3 separate regions of the Homo sapiens genome follow, and all the other regions are linked to region 1. The links are contacts of gene promoters, found by promoter capture Hi-C in human tissues and cell types (Jung and others, 2019). All regions are on one chromosome and are shown on one strand. The core of a region is centred on a gene start or on the middle of the fragment in contact, and the rest is flanking DNA. Distances in the headings are between cores, read along the strand shown. Region 1 holds the start of COG1 (component of oligomeric golgi complex 1). Region 2 holds the start of LOC107985005 (a long non-coding RNA gene). Region 3 overlaps LINC00673 (long intergenic non-protein coding RNA 673).

Region 1 (3,968 bases), core at 841-3,340:
TTCTAAAATCAGGCATAATTCAAGTTAGCGTTTTAATAAACCCTGAAGCATGACTCAGTTACAGCAAAGGCTGGCCACCTAAGGGGACACGTGTACTAAATGTTAGCTTTGGGAGGGATGAGGTCACTCATTTCAAAAATATGCAAACTTATTTGCAACTTCCTATAGTTTTATTGTGTCAGTCCAGTCTACTGACCAGGATTTCTGTAAAGCTCAGATAGCATGAACAAGTTCCAAATTGGAGTTAGACTGTACTTTTCAATTTTTTCTTCTATGTCCCAGTAAGTTCTCCCAGGCTGTTAAAAACAACTAACTGTTTACCTTTTTCACCCTTCATGCCCTTTCACTTCGTTCATTGCTAGGTCTATATTCTTTAAGGGGCCGTGCGCGGTGGCTCTCGCGCCTGTAATCCCATCACTTTGGGAGGCCAAGGCAGGCAGATCACATGAGGTCAGGGGTTGGAGACCAGCCGGGCCAATATGGTGAAACCCCGTCTCTACTGAAAGTACAAAAATTAGTCGGACATGGTGGCAGGTGCCTGTAATCCCAGCTACGCGGGTGGCTGAGGCAGGAGAATCGCTTGAACCCGGGAGGCGGAGGTTGCAGTGAGCCGAGATCGCGCCACTGCACTCCAGCCTGGGTGACAGAGCGAGATCCTGTCTCAAAAAATAAAGAAATAAAAATTCTTTTTTTTTTTTTTTTTGAGACAGAGTCTCGCTCTGTGGCCCAGGCTGGAGTGCAGTGGCGCGATCTCGGCTCACTGCAAGCTCCGCCTCCCGGGTTCATGCCATTCTCCTGCCTCAGCCTCCCAGGTAGCTGGGACTACAGGCGCCGGCCACCACGCCTGGCTAATTTTGTGTATTTTTAGTAGAGACGGGGTTTCACCGTGTTAGCCAGGATGGTCTGGATCTCCTGACCTCGTGATCCACCCGCCTCGGCCTCCCAAAGTGCTGGGATTACAGGCGTGAGCCACCGCACCCGGCCAATAAAAATTCTTTAGGAACGCAAGCTGCAGCTCCAATATGAGGATGTGTTTGTTTACCTCCCATCCTTCCTCATTGTGTCTAATCAATAGCGTTTGGGGGGAAGAACACGGGATAAGGAGAACCTGAATGAAAAAAGCCTTAGTTCTGAAAATGAAAATGTTCAGCTATTAAAAGGTAAGGGCTTGGCCGGCTGTGGTGGCTCATGACTGTAATCCCAGCACTTTGGGAGACCCTGTCACATACATACATAAAGTTAAGGGCTTGATAGCTGGTACCCTCAACAACTCCCAAAGGGTAGAACAGCTATTTGGGGTTGTGGAAGTTATTCTTGGGGAGATAAGGGGAAGGTTGGGATGAGGAAGAAATGACTTGGAGTGCAGGTGTCAACATAGGGGAGAAACCTGAGGAAAAACAATGTCAGGACATGTTATATAGGTGAGCGTTGAACTGTCAAGACAGAAACTCCTGGCGTTTTCCGCTAAAATTGAAAGGAGCCCAGTGAGGTGTAGGAATCAAGGCCCGGAAGTCGGGGGAAAGCGCCTGAAGAAACTGTTGAATGGCATTTCCAGAACGGATCAGCAGCCGCATATGTGCAAGGAAGGCTGGCACTGTCCTCTGAGGGGGGCCCAAAGGGTGAGGGGCGGATAGGCTCCTGGCTAAGGAAGGTGAGGACTCGCGGGGTCTGGGACTGACAGAGGGGGGCGGGGTTGACCTGCAAGGCCAGGGGCTCCGGGACCCGCCTGCGGGTCGCAGGGTGGGGGCACGGGGACTGACCTGCTGGGCCCGCGGTGGCCGGGGCGCGGCCGAGCCGGCCTGGCGGAGGCGGGCGCAGTACTGGTCGGTGGCCTTCACGGCGTCCACTAGCCCCACGGCGCAGCGGCGCATCTGGCCGATGGTGTCGGCCGCCTCGATCAGGTCGCGGTACCGTTCGCCCACCATCTGCCGCAGCTCCTCCTTCTTGTGCTCGATCTCGGCCCGAACCTGGCGCTCCAGCCCGCGGATCTCCTCCGCTCCATGCGTCTCGAAAAGAGCCGCAGGGTCGCGCAGATCCAGCCGCTTCAGCGCGGGTGAGGTTGCCGCGGTGGCCATGGTGCACTCGTCAGCCCCCGGCGATCTACCTACGCCCTTTTAGTCCCGCCCCCTCCGCCATCTTCGTTGGGGGCGGAAGCGCTTCCGCCCCGCCGGGGGCCATGTTTGTTACCCGAGGGGGCGGGCGCGAGGGGGCGGGCGCGAGGGGGCGGGCGCGAGGGGGCGGGCGCGAGGGGGCGGGCGCGAGGGGGCGGGCGCGAGGGGGCGGGCGCGAGGGGGCGGGGGCGGGCGCGGGCGCGGGGGCGGGCGCGGTCCTGCGCGGGGTTTTCTTAAACGGAGCCGGCTGGGAAGTGAGGTCGCCAGAGAGGTGAGGTCGCCAGGTTGGCTGCGAAACTGTGGCTGAAGTCTTCCCTTTCCCTTAGGAGCAGAGCTTCTCTGTGGAGTTAGGTGTCGGGATCGGGCCCCGCGGACTGACGGCGTTGGCGCAGGCGCAGCCGCCGCTCTCCGCGCGCCTGGCGCCCGCGAGCAGACTCGGGCGCGCTCGCCGCCGCTGGGTCTCGGATCGCACCCCGCGTGCAGTTTTAGGAAGAGGGACATCCGCGCCCCTCGCTGTTCCCCGGGAAGAGCTACCACGCCGCCCCTGAAGGGGTTCTGAGCGCTTGTTTGGCGTCTGCTTTTCCTCTGCTGTTGATTCGTGTTGGAGGTTTTCCATTTCGTTTAAAACCGATGTTTAGCCCCTGAAGACGTTTTCCCTGCGAGAGCCTGACCTTGGTGGCCATGGGGGAGGAGGGCGGCGGGCTGGGCGGGAGAGGCTGGGACGCCCCGGGGAACGCAGCGCCAGACGGGTGGGCGCTCCTCACGTGGCCCAGGAATAGTAGAATCTGGAGATTGTGGCTTGTTTCTGCTAAGTCCCAGACCCTTCTTTTTTTTTTTTTCTGTTTTAATTTCTTTTGGAAGATTTCACCCACACCAGTGTCGACAAAATGATGCAATGTGCGCAGCGGCCATGCTGAGCCCCCAGCAACTCAGGGCCTACCCTGCATCCCTGCTCATTCCCTCTCCCACCCGCCACCTCCGGACGCACAGAATTTCAATCTGCAAATAAATGGTGCATTTATAATATTCCAGTTTAACCCGCAAGAGCCTTGCGGCGTAGGGAGTATCATTCTCACTTTACAGACTCATTTTACAGATGGGGAAACGGGGGCCCGGAGAGGCAAAGGGTTTTTTACTCAGTAAAAGTGCAGTTTTCAGAGCCTGTCCACGAGATTATCTCATTTTCTCGCACATCGGCCATGCCAGGTAGGTAGGAGTAATATTCCTAGTCCATTTATGAGGAAAAAAAAAAAAGAAACAAAAGCTTATTTACCTGCCCAAATTACATAGCTGATAGGTGACCCAGTGAGTATTTGGACGTCGATTTTTAAATTACTGGCTCGCGCTCTTTTCTACGTTTTCACATAATTTCCCACAGAGCACCCTCTGTTGGCAGGCCTGCAGTTTGCAGTCTCTAATCCCATTCTGCAAGGGACACTTACTGGTATTCGGCTGATAAGCATCCGCAGTATCTCCTTTCTGTGATTGGGGAATTCATCGCTATCTAGCAAAATCTTTTTTTCTGGCGCCCTTTATAGCTACGGTGCCAGCCTGCGGCCTGGGACTGGCACAGCAGGCACAAGCGCCTAGGACTTGGGTGAAGAGTTAGTGACATTAAGAAGCAGGCTGTAATCCCAGCACTTTGGGAGCCCAAGGCGTGTGGATCCCTTGAGCCCAGGAGTTCAAGACCAGCCTGGGCAACACGGCCAAACCCCGTCCTTACAAAAAAATACAAAAAAAGGGGCGCGCGCCGGGTGGCTCATGCCTGTAATCCCAGCACTTTGGGAGGCCGAGGCAGGCGGATCACATGAGGTCAGGAGTTCGAGACCAGCCTGGCCAACATGGTGATACCCTGTC
Region 2 (3,735 bases), core at 688-3,187, 560 kb after region 1:
TAGGGAAGCCTAGGGAATGAGACCGAGGGACCATGGCTGAATCAGCACTAATTGTAGCTCTGAACTTGCCTTGCCCCGGTAGCGAAGGCAGATGGTGCCAGTGACCCCTCCCCAGGGGACTGCAGACTTTGAACACACACTCGTCTTCTGTCCCCTCCCTCTGTGTCGAGTGCCAAGGTCAGTCTAGGTGTCTGCAGAGGAACGGTTGTTTGCCCAAGGAAGACGCTTGTGATATTCCTGGCCTGGTGACTGGCAGTCACGTGGTGGGAGGGTGGAGGCAGGGAGGAGGTGACCGAACAGAATAGGACAGCCCAGAGTGGTTTGCAGGATGCATCAAGAAGTGCACACAATAACCTTGGCAGCATCCATGGAGGCCGCTTCCAGGTTCTTTTTGGTCACAAAATCCCCTTGCTTCTGTAAAGCCTGCCACCTTGCTGGCTACGAAGGAGGGGCGACCCTTTGCAGGCGGTGTTGCATTTGTAGGGAGTCTGATTTGGGAATTCATACTTCCAGTCTCCCTCATCCCTGGTCTGTCCCGTATGCGGTCGGGCACATGAGCCAAGGGCGCGCACTGCACTGCTTCGGTGTGTATGGTATTTGCTAAAGCCATCAGAAGAGCCCGCTGCCAATACGGGAAATGATTTTTCCTAATGCAATGCTCTCCTTGGGCTGTTTTTATGAAAATGATGTGTCGGAGTCTCTGCGGCCCCTTCACTGGCTCTGGTTGGCTTCTGGGAATGAGAGCTCAGTGGCCCCCTGGCACGGATCCCCACCCCTGGCTTTTAGAAGGCTGACTGACACATTGCGTGTCAGTTAATGCTGCCTGCTGGAAGCCTGGGGCTTTGCCGGGGACTGTGGATCATAACTTGCATTGTGTGCATCAAGGGCCCTGACAAGTGCTGATGGATTTGGCTTCCTTGCGGCTCCTGAGCCCTGGGCGGGGACAAAGGGGAGCATTGTTTGGCAGGGCAGGCCTCTGCCTGTGAACCCACTCGTTTGCCTGACGGTAGAGACAGGTGTATCACACGCTCAGCATGCCAGAGCTATGCTGGATGATCAAGATCTAAGTTTTGTTCCCCAGGGCCAGGCTTAGAGAAGCAGACATGGCCCAAGGAATGGCCCGTGGTCACTCTTCTCCCTGAAACCAGCCCCTGACTTTTCTTTTCTCTGTTTGCTCTTCTGAGCTCTGCTCCTAAAATAAGATCTTGTTAGGGAAAGAAAACAAATCTGCCCCAACTTCCTGTCCTTTGTAGCTCAGGAGGGCTAGCAGGATGCTGAGGACCCTCGCTGGGGAAGGTAAATGTGGACCACTGTTGTGCCAAGGCTGTGTCTCACCTCCTGGTTGTGCTCCACGGTGGCCCCTGTGGGAACCATTTCATGACCCTTCCAGCCTGATGCAGCCCGGTTGGGGGAATTGCATGGGTAGATCATTTTCTTGCACGTCCTAGTTTATTGCTATAGGTGCTCCAAACTATTATCATCACTTTTAAATTAAAAATTGATTTTCATTAGGCATAATAACAGATAAATGAAGTTTAGTAAGTCAAATGGCATGAAAACCATTTTTGAAGGAAGTCAGCCATGCTCTGCCCTCTACTTCCCCAACTCTGAATCTGCTCCCTGGGGGCACCTCTTTAAATTCTGACTTAGATGTTTCTTTTGATATTTACCTCCTACTTCCCAATACCATGCTCATCCTGGCATTTCTCCTTGTTTTGGTTTTAAACATTATCTATTGAATTCTTACCTGAAAACGTGAAAGTTTCCTTGGGCTTACACTGGGCTTCATGGAACTCTAGCCTTGCTAAAGCAGCTTAACCACATAAGGGTAGATGTCTCTCGTGTAACTTGAAGTACAGCAGAGGTTCAGTCTGGGTTTGGAGAAGTGACTCTGTGGTACCACTGGGGACCCCTGCCTCCTCCCATCTTTCCACTCCATAATCCTTAGCATGTGTGCCTGCCTAAATTCACACTTCCCTTCATACTAAATAAAATGACCCGGGTCAGGGACTGTGGCTCATGCCTGTAATCCCAGTATTTTGGAAGGCTAAGACAGGTGAATCACTTGAGCTCACAAGTTCAAGACTAGCCTGGGCAACATGGTGAACCCCCATCTCTACAAAAAATACAAAAATTAGCTGGGCCTGGTGGTGTGTGCCTGTAGTCCCAGCTACCTGGGAGACTGAGGTGGAAGGATGTCTCAAGCCCAGAAGGCAGAGATTGCAGTGAGTCAAGATGGCACCACTGCACTCCAGCCTGGTCGATAGAGCCAGACTTCGTCTCAAACAAAAAAAGTAAAATGACCCAGATTTTATACCAAGCTGCAACTATATCTACTATGCCCAGTATAGTAGATAGTAGGCAGAATAAGGGTCTCCTAAAAATGTCTATGTCCTGGCCGGATGTAGTGGCTCATCCCTGTAATCCCAGCACTTCAGGAGGCCAAAGTGGGAGGATTGCTTGAGACTGGGAGTTTAAGGCTGCAGTGAGCTACAGTTGCGTTACTGTGCTCCAGCCTGGATGACAAAGCGAGACCCCATCTCTATTAAAAATAAAAATAAAAACAAAAAAGATGTCTGTGTTCTAATCCCCAAAAGCTGTGATTGTCTTATGTTACATGGCAAAGGGGATTCAAGGTTGCAAATGGAATTAAGGTTGCTTACCAGCTGACCTTGAGATGGGGAAGTGACCCTGGATTTTCCCAATAGACAGATGTAATCACAAGTGTCCTTGTAAATGGAAAAAGATGGCAGAAGAATGTGAGTCAGAGTCGTACGAGGTGTGAAAGACTCAACTGGCCATTGCAAGCTTTGAAGACAGAGGAAGGAGCCATGAGTCAAGGAAAATAGGTGGCCTCTAGAAGCTGGAAGAGATAAAAAAACAAATTCTCCCCTGGAGCCTCCAGAAAAGCACTTGGCCCTGCCAAGGACACCTTGATTTTAGCCCAGTGAGACCCACTTCAGACTTCTGACCTCTAGAACTGTAAGATAATACATTTGCTTTGTTTTAAACCACTCTTCATGGTTATTTATTACAACAGCAATAGGAAACTAATATACCAACCTAAAAACTGTATTTCCCAGCCCATTGTAGCTACAGGGCGACACAATTCTGGCCAAGGAGACAAAAGCAGTAGCCTGCTGATAATTTTTCTAAGAAAGTTTTGTTTTTCTGAGGTAGAGGCTGTTCTTTTCTCATTTGCTGCATTCTTCTTCCTGCCTGGAATACAGATGAAAAGCTAGAGATGGGACAGCCACCATAGCACCATGAGGCAAGCATGAGGATGGAGTCTGTACACCAGCTTTGGTAATACAAGACAGACAGTCAGCACTGGGCACATTGGGATATCACGAAACTGTTGCGTTGTGACTGCTCCCACCGGACTTTTGTATTTGAGCACAATAAATGTCTCTTTGCTCATGGATCTGTTTTATGCCACCCTAGGCAATCCCTGAATGAAATACTCTGCTGCCAGGCTCTCCCAAATCTTCCTTTTTCTTGATTTACTCCCTCATTCTGATGGAGCATATCCTTCCATAGTTTTCTGTGGAGGAAAATTTTTTGAGAACTTGCATATTCTAAAATGTTTTTGTCACACTTGATTGATAGTTTGTTTGCTACAGACGTTTAGGTGGAAAATCAGTTTATCTTAGAAATCTGATATTATTGCTCCATTACCTTCTCATCTTGTGTGTTGCTATTGAGTTGTTCCATACTCTTCAGATTCCTTCTCTT
Region 3 (3,693 bases), core at 495-2,994, 650 kb after region 1:
GGAGGAGTGTTTCCAGAAAGCCAGCTCCTGGGCAGGGGGCTGTCTAAAGAGCAGGGGTGGATCTACTGTGGAGATGAGGCAGAGCCCCTCCCCTACACAGCCCTCCCTGACTGGCCTCAACTGTGTATTTACAACTTCATATCTTAAAGAGGCTGCCTCTCCCTCTAGAAAACATGTATGTTTCAGGTCTCACAAAACCTGGATCCACCTACGGCTGGGGGTTGGGGGATGGATGGAAAGATGGGATCAAGGAGTGTAAGTGAAGGAGCTGGCTCTCAGGCTCTGACTCCAGGCCAGGCAACCTTGAGTGAGTTTTTGGACCTCTGGGTGCTTCCATTTCCTTTTCTGTAAAAAACAAACAAACAAACAAACAAACATCATAAAAAACTCATGTCCTAAGGTCGTGGTAAAGGTTAAAGAAGATAAAGTACAGAAGGAATTCGCACAGTGCTTTGCACAGAGCAAACGCTCTATGCTTTTCCTGTAATTTCCTGTTATAGTGTTCATATTAATATGCATATTCCTGATTGGTGCTCTGAGAACTTTTCCGTTGCTGTGTTGGGTTCCTCCAGTGGTTTGTGGATGGAGATCATGGGGTGTGTTAGTCCATTTGCATTGCTATAAAGGACTATCTGAGCCTAGGTAGTTTGTAATGAAAAGAGGTTTATTTGGCTCAGGGTTCAGCAGGCTGTACAGGAAGCATGGCCCTGGCATCTGCTTGGCTTCCGGTGAGGCCCCAGGAAGCTTCCAATCATGGCAGAAGGTAAACGGGAACCAGCATGTTACATGGCAAGAGGGAAAGCAAGAGATGGGGGAAGGTACCAGGCCCTTTTAAACAATCACATCTCACATGAACTCTTTTCTTTCTTTCTTTTTTTTTTTTTTTTTTTGAGATGGAGTCTTGCTCTGTCACCCAGGCTAGAGTGCAGCGGCACAGTCTTGGCTCACTGCAACCTCTATCTCCCAAGTTCAACCAGTTCTCCTGCCTCAAGCCTCTCGAGTAGCTGGGACTACAGGTGCGTGCCACCGCGCCCAACTAATTTTTTTGTATTTTTAATAGAGATGGGGTTTCACCATGTTGGCCAGGCTGGTTTCGAACTTCTGACCTCCAGGGATCCACCTGACGTGGCCTCCCAAAGTACTGGGATTACAGGTGTGAGCCACCATGCCAAGCTCACATGAACTGTTCTAGTGAGAACTCACTCGTTACTGTGAAGATAGCACCAAACCATTCATGAGGAATCCACCCCCATGATCCGAACACCTCCCACTAGGCCCACCTCCAACACCGGAGATCACATTTCAGTATGAGATTTGGAGGGAACAAACAGCCAAACCATATCACGTGCTCTCTTCTTGAGTCACCCCATAATTTGTACCCAAAGACCAGGGGGCATATGGGATCACGTGCTGTTTCCAGGAGAGATGTGTTGTAGGTTTGTGGGCCTTGAAGGGCTGTGGGCAGTGATCCCGCCCAGATTCTCTAGACACATGTTCCAATGGTGTCCGCTCACAGACATGGACCCCAGATCTGCGCCATCCCCTGCAGGATGCCCCAGAGCAGCGAGATGCCCCCTTTGCTCTGGCGCCACTCTCTGAGAACCAAACCTTTTAAACTGTGAGCAAGTTGCTGGAGAAGAGAATGGGCCTGGGACTGCAAAAGTAACCTCTCTCCCGAAGGAGGAGACAGGATTCCCGAACATCCTCTGGGGCAGCCCTGGGTGGTGGAGTGCGCCTGGACAGCTGGTGTCCGTCTGCAGGCTCCTGCCTCAGGCCCTGGAGTGGCAGCTTGGCAGGTCCAGACCCTTCCCCAGGGACAGTTGCGGCTGGGAACCCTGGACCTCTTCCCTGGGCCTGAGCCGCTTCCCCGTGCGGCCGTTCGCCGAGTGGCCACTTGATGGCGCTGTGGCTCCACCGGGCGCGGGCGCGGGCGGAGCGGCGCGTCTGCTTCCAGCCGCCGGGCCGGTGCTGCCGCGGTCACCCCCGGCGCCTGGCTGTGCCCGGCGCGTCCGCCCTCCCGGCGCGCGGCTGGTGGGGCGCAGCCCTCGCGGCCGGTTCTGCCCGAAGCACAAAGCCACTGCTCAGAGCCAGCGCCTCCTGCTTGCAGCTCCCCAGTGAAAGAAGTTTGGGTCCTTGGTGGTGTTTTTCTCCCTGGCCTGGATGGTCCTGCAGAGGCCCCTTGCCACCTAATGACTTTATTCTTCTTAAAACATGTTTCTTTCTTTCTTTGCTTCTTGTTTTTGTTTTGATTTGTTTATTGGCCTGTACTCCGTTTCTGCCGTCTTACCAATAGCTCCTGACCAAGCCCGAGGCCTGCTAGAGAACTGTAGTTTAATTTAACCTCCACCGGCCAGGCTGGTCTGTTTCCTCTTTTCAAGCTTCCCTGCGGTTCTAACTTTGCTCCAGAAGATTCCTCCTGGAGCTTTTGCTTGGGAGAGAAAGGCGTTTGAACGCAGAGTTCAAGCGAGCTGGCCAAAATGGAATGCAAAAGAAGAAAATTTAAAAGAGAAAAGAAGGAGGCTTCTCAGAAATGAACTTTTCATCTGATTCCAAACATTCTGCAGTGCAGTTTTGTAAAAATACCAGAAAACACAAAGAAGCAAATAAAACACATCCATGATTTTGCGTCTAGAAATGGCTTTTGTATTTTAATATGTCTTTCCACGATTTATTGTCATTGCATAGATATACGTTCCCTTTCATCCCCCCGATTGGGTCAGTTTACTCATTTAGCTGGGTCGCCTGCTTTTTCATTGAACGCACTGGGAGCGTTTTTCCTTGGCAAGCTGGTTTCTGCAAGTTTCCCTCAAGTTTCCCTCAAACTCTTGAAGTTTTGCATGCAGGTCACTCCCAGGCAGGTTGCTGTGTGAGATAGCCTCACTGAAGCTGGGATTTGGACGTTTGGAAGAGGATGATTGAATTGTAGCTTCCAGGGAGGACAGAATTGTGAGCTCTTTTTGGAAGACCAGAGTTACCCATATTTGTTTAGCAAAGCGAGCAGGCCCACTTCAAGTCAGCGGTTCTCAAAGAGCCTGAGCAGGGTGCTGAATTCAGGCCTCTGAGCTTTGAGCGCCCCTCCCAGAACCCCTAGGCATCTGAATGTAGGTCGGAGGCTTCCCAGGCTGCCTGAAGTCTGGGGACTGAGAGGCGGGGCTCAGGGGTCACTGAATCAGCCCCTTCCTTGTCCCTCTGGAGGACCCCGGGATAAATGCAAAAGGCGTGTGTGTGTGTGTGTGTGTGTGTGGGTGTGGTGGGGGGATTCGGAGGTGGAGAAGGCAGATCAGGCCGCTTCTCTAGGTCTGTCCTCCCTTTGGGACAGGAGCAGTGTGGCTGCCAGAGCTGACCGCCTTCCTGCAGCTCTGAGCGTGCCGAGCCTAGCAAGCTTGTGCTTCCACCTAGAGCTGCAAAGGGCAGCGGGCAGAAACCGGGCTGGGGCTGGCATTAGCTTTCCCTCCTCCCAGTTTCTCTCCAGCGCAGCAGGGCACCTCTAGCCCAGAAAAAGAAAACTAACTTTCTCTTATTTCTGTTTTCTGCTGCTGCTAATCTCCTCCTGAAGGGTTGTGTGGCTTCTTGGGACTCTGGAAAGAAACTGCAGGGGACGAGGACAAAGGAAACAGCTACTGTAGTCACTGCAGCTATGCAGGCTCTGTGCTAGCCCTGGAAAGGCCTGGACGTTCAGGTCTGCTGTGCCGG

The links. Contacts are between HindIII fragments. The study calls those that stand out against the background at their distance.
Region 2: a contact is called between a fragment that was not itself captured here and the fragment with the promoter of COG1 in region 1, in 2 of the 25 tissues and cell types used here (IMR-90 fibroblasts and dorsolateral prefrontal cortex).
Region 3: a fragment that was not itself captured here is called in contact with the fragment with the promoter of COG1 in region 1 in 1 of the 25 tissues and cell types used here (hippocampus).

Annotation. Positions count from the first base shown.
Region 1 is chr17:73,191,177-73,195,144 of GRCh38, reverse strand. It overlaps COG1 (component of oligomeric golgi complex 1), which reads right to left and starts at 2,090. Exons shown (of 14, transcript NM_018714.3): 1 at 1,761-2,090. The coding sequence starts at 2,075. RefSeq lists a silencer at 1,599-1,808 and enhancers at 1,859-2,138, 2,769-2,818, 2,104-2,863. The HindIII fragment of the contact is 14,916 bases long and covers 1-3,968 here.
Region 2 is chr17:72,628,910-72,632,644 of GRCh38, reverse strand. All of the region lies in intron 2 of LINC00511 (long intergenic non-protein coding RNA 511), which reads left to right. It overlaps LOC107985005 (a long non-coding RNA gene), which reads right to left and starts at 3,013. Exons shown (of 3, transcript XR_001752991.2): 1 at 2,664-3,013. The HindIII fragment of the contact is 4,687 bases long and covers 1-3,735 here.
Region 3 is chr17:72,538,715-72,542,407 of GRCh38, reverse strand. All of the region lies in intron 1 of LINC00673 (long intergenic non-protein coding RNA 673), which reads left to right. Among named protein-coding and RNA genes, the nearest start is that of LINC00673, 52 kb to the left of the region's middle. RefSeq lists a silencer at 1,806-2,055. The HindIII fragment of the contact is 3,812 bases long and covers 1-3,650 here.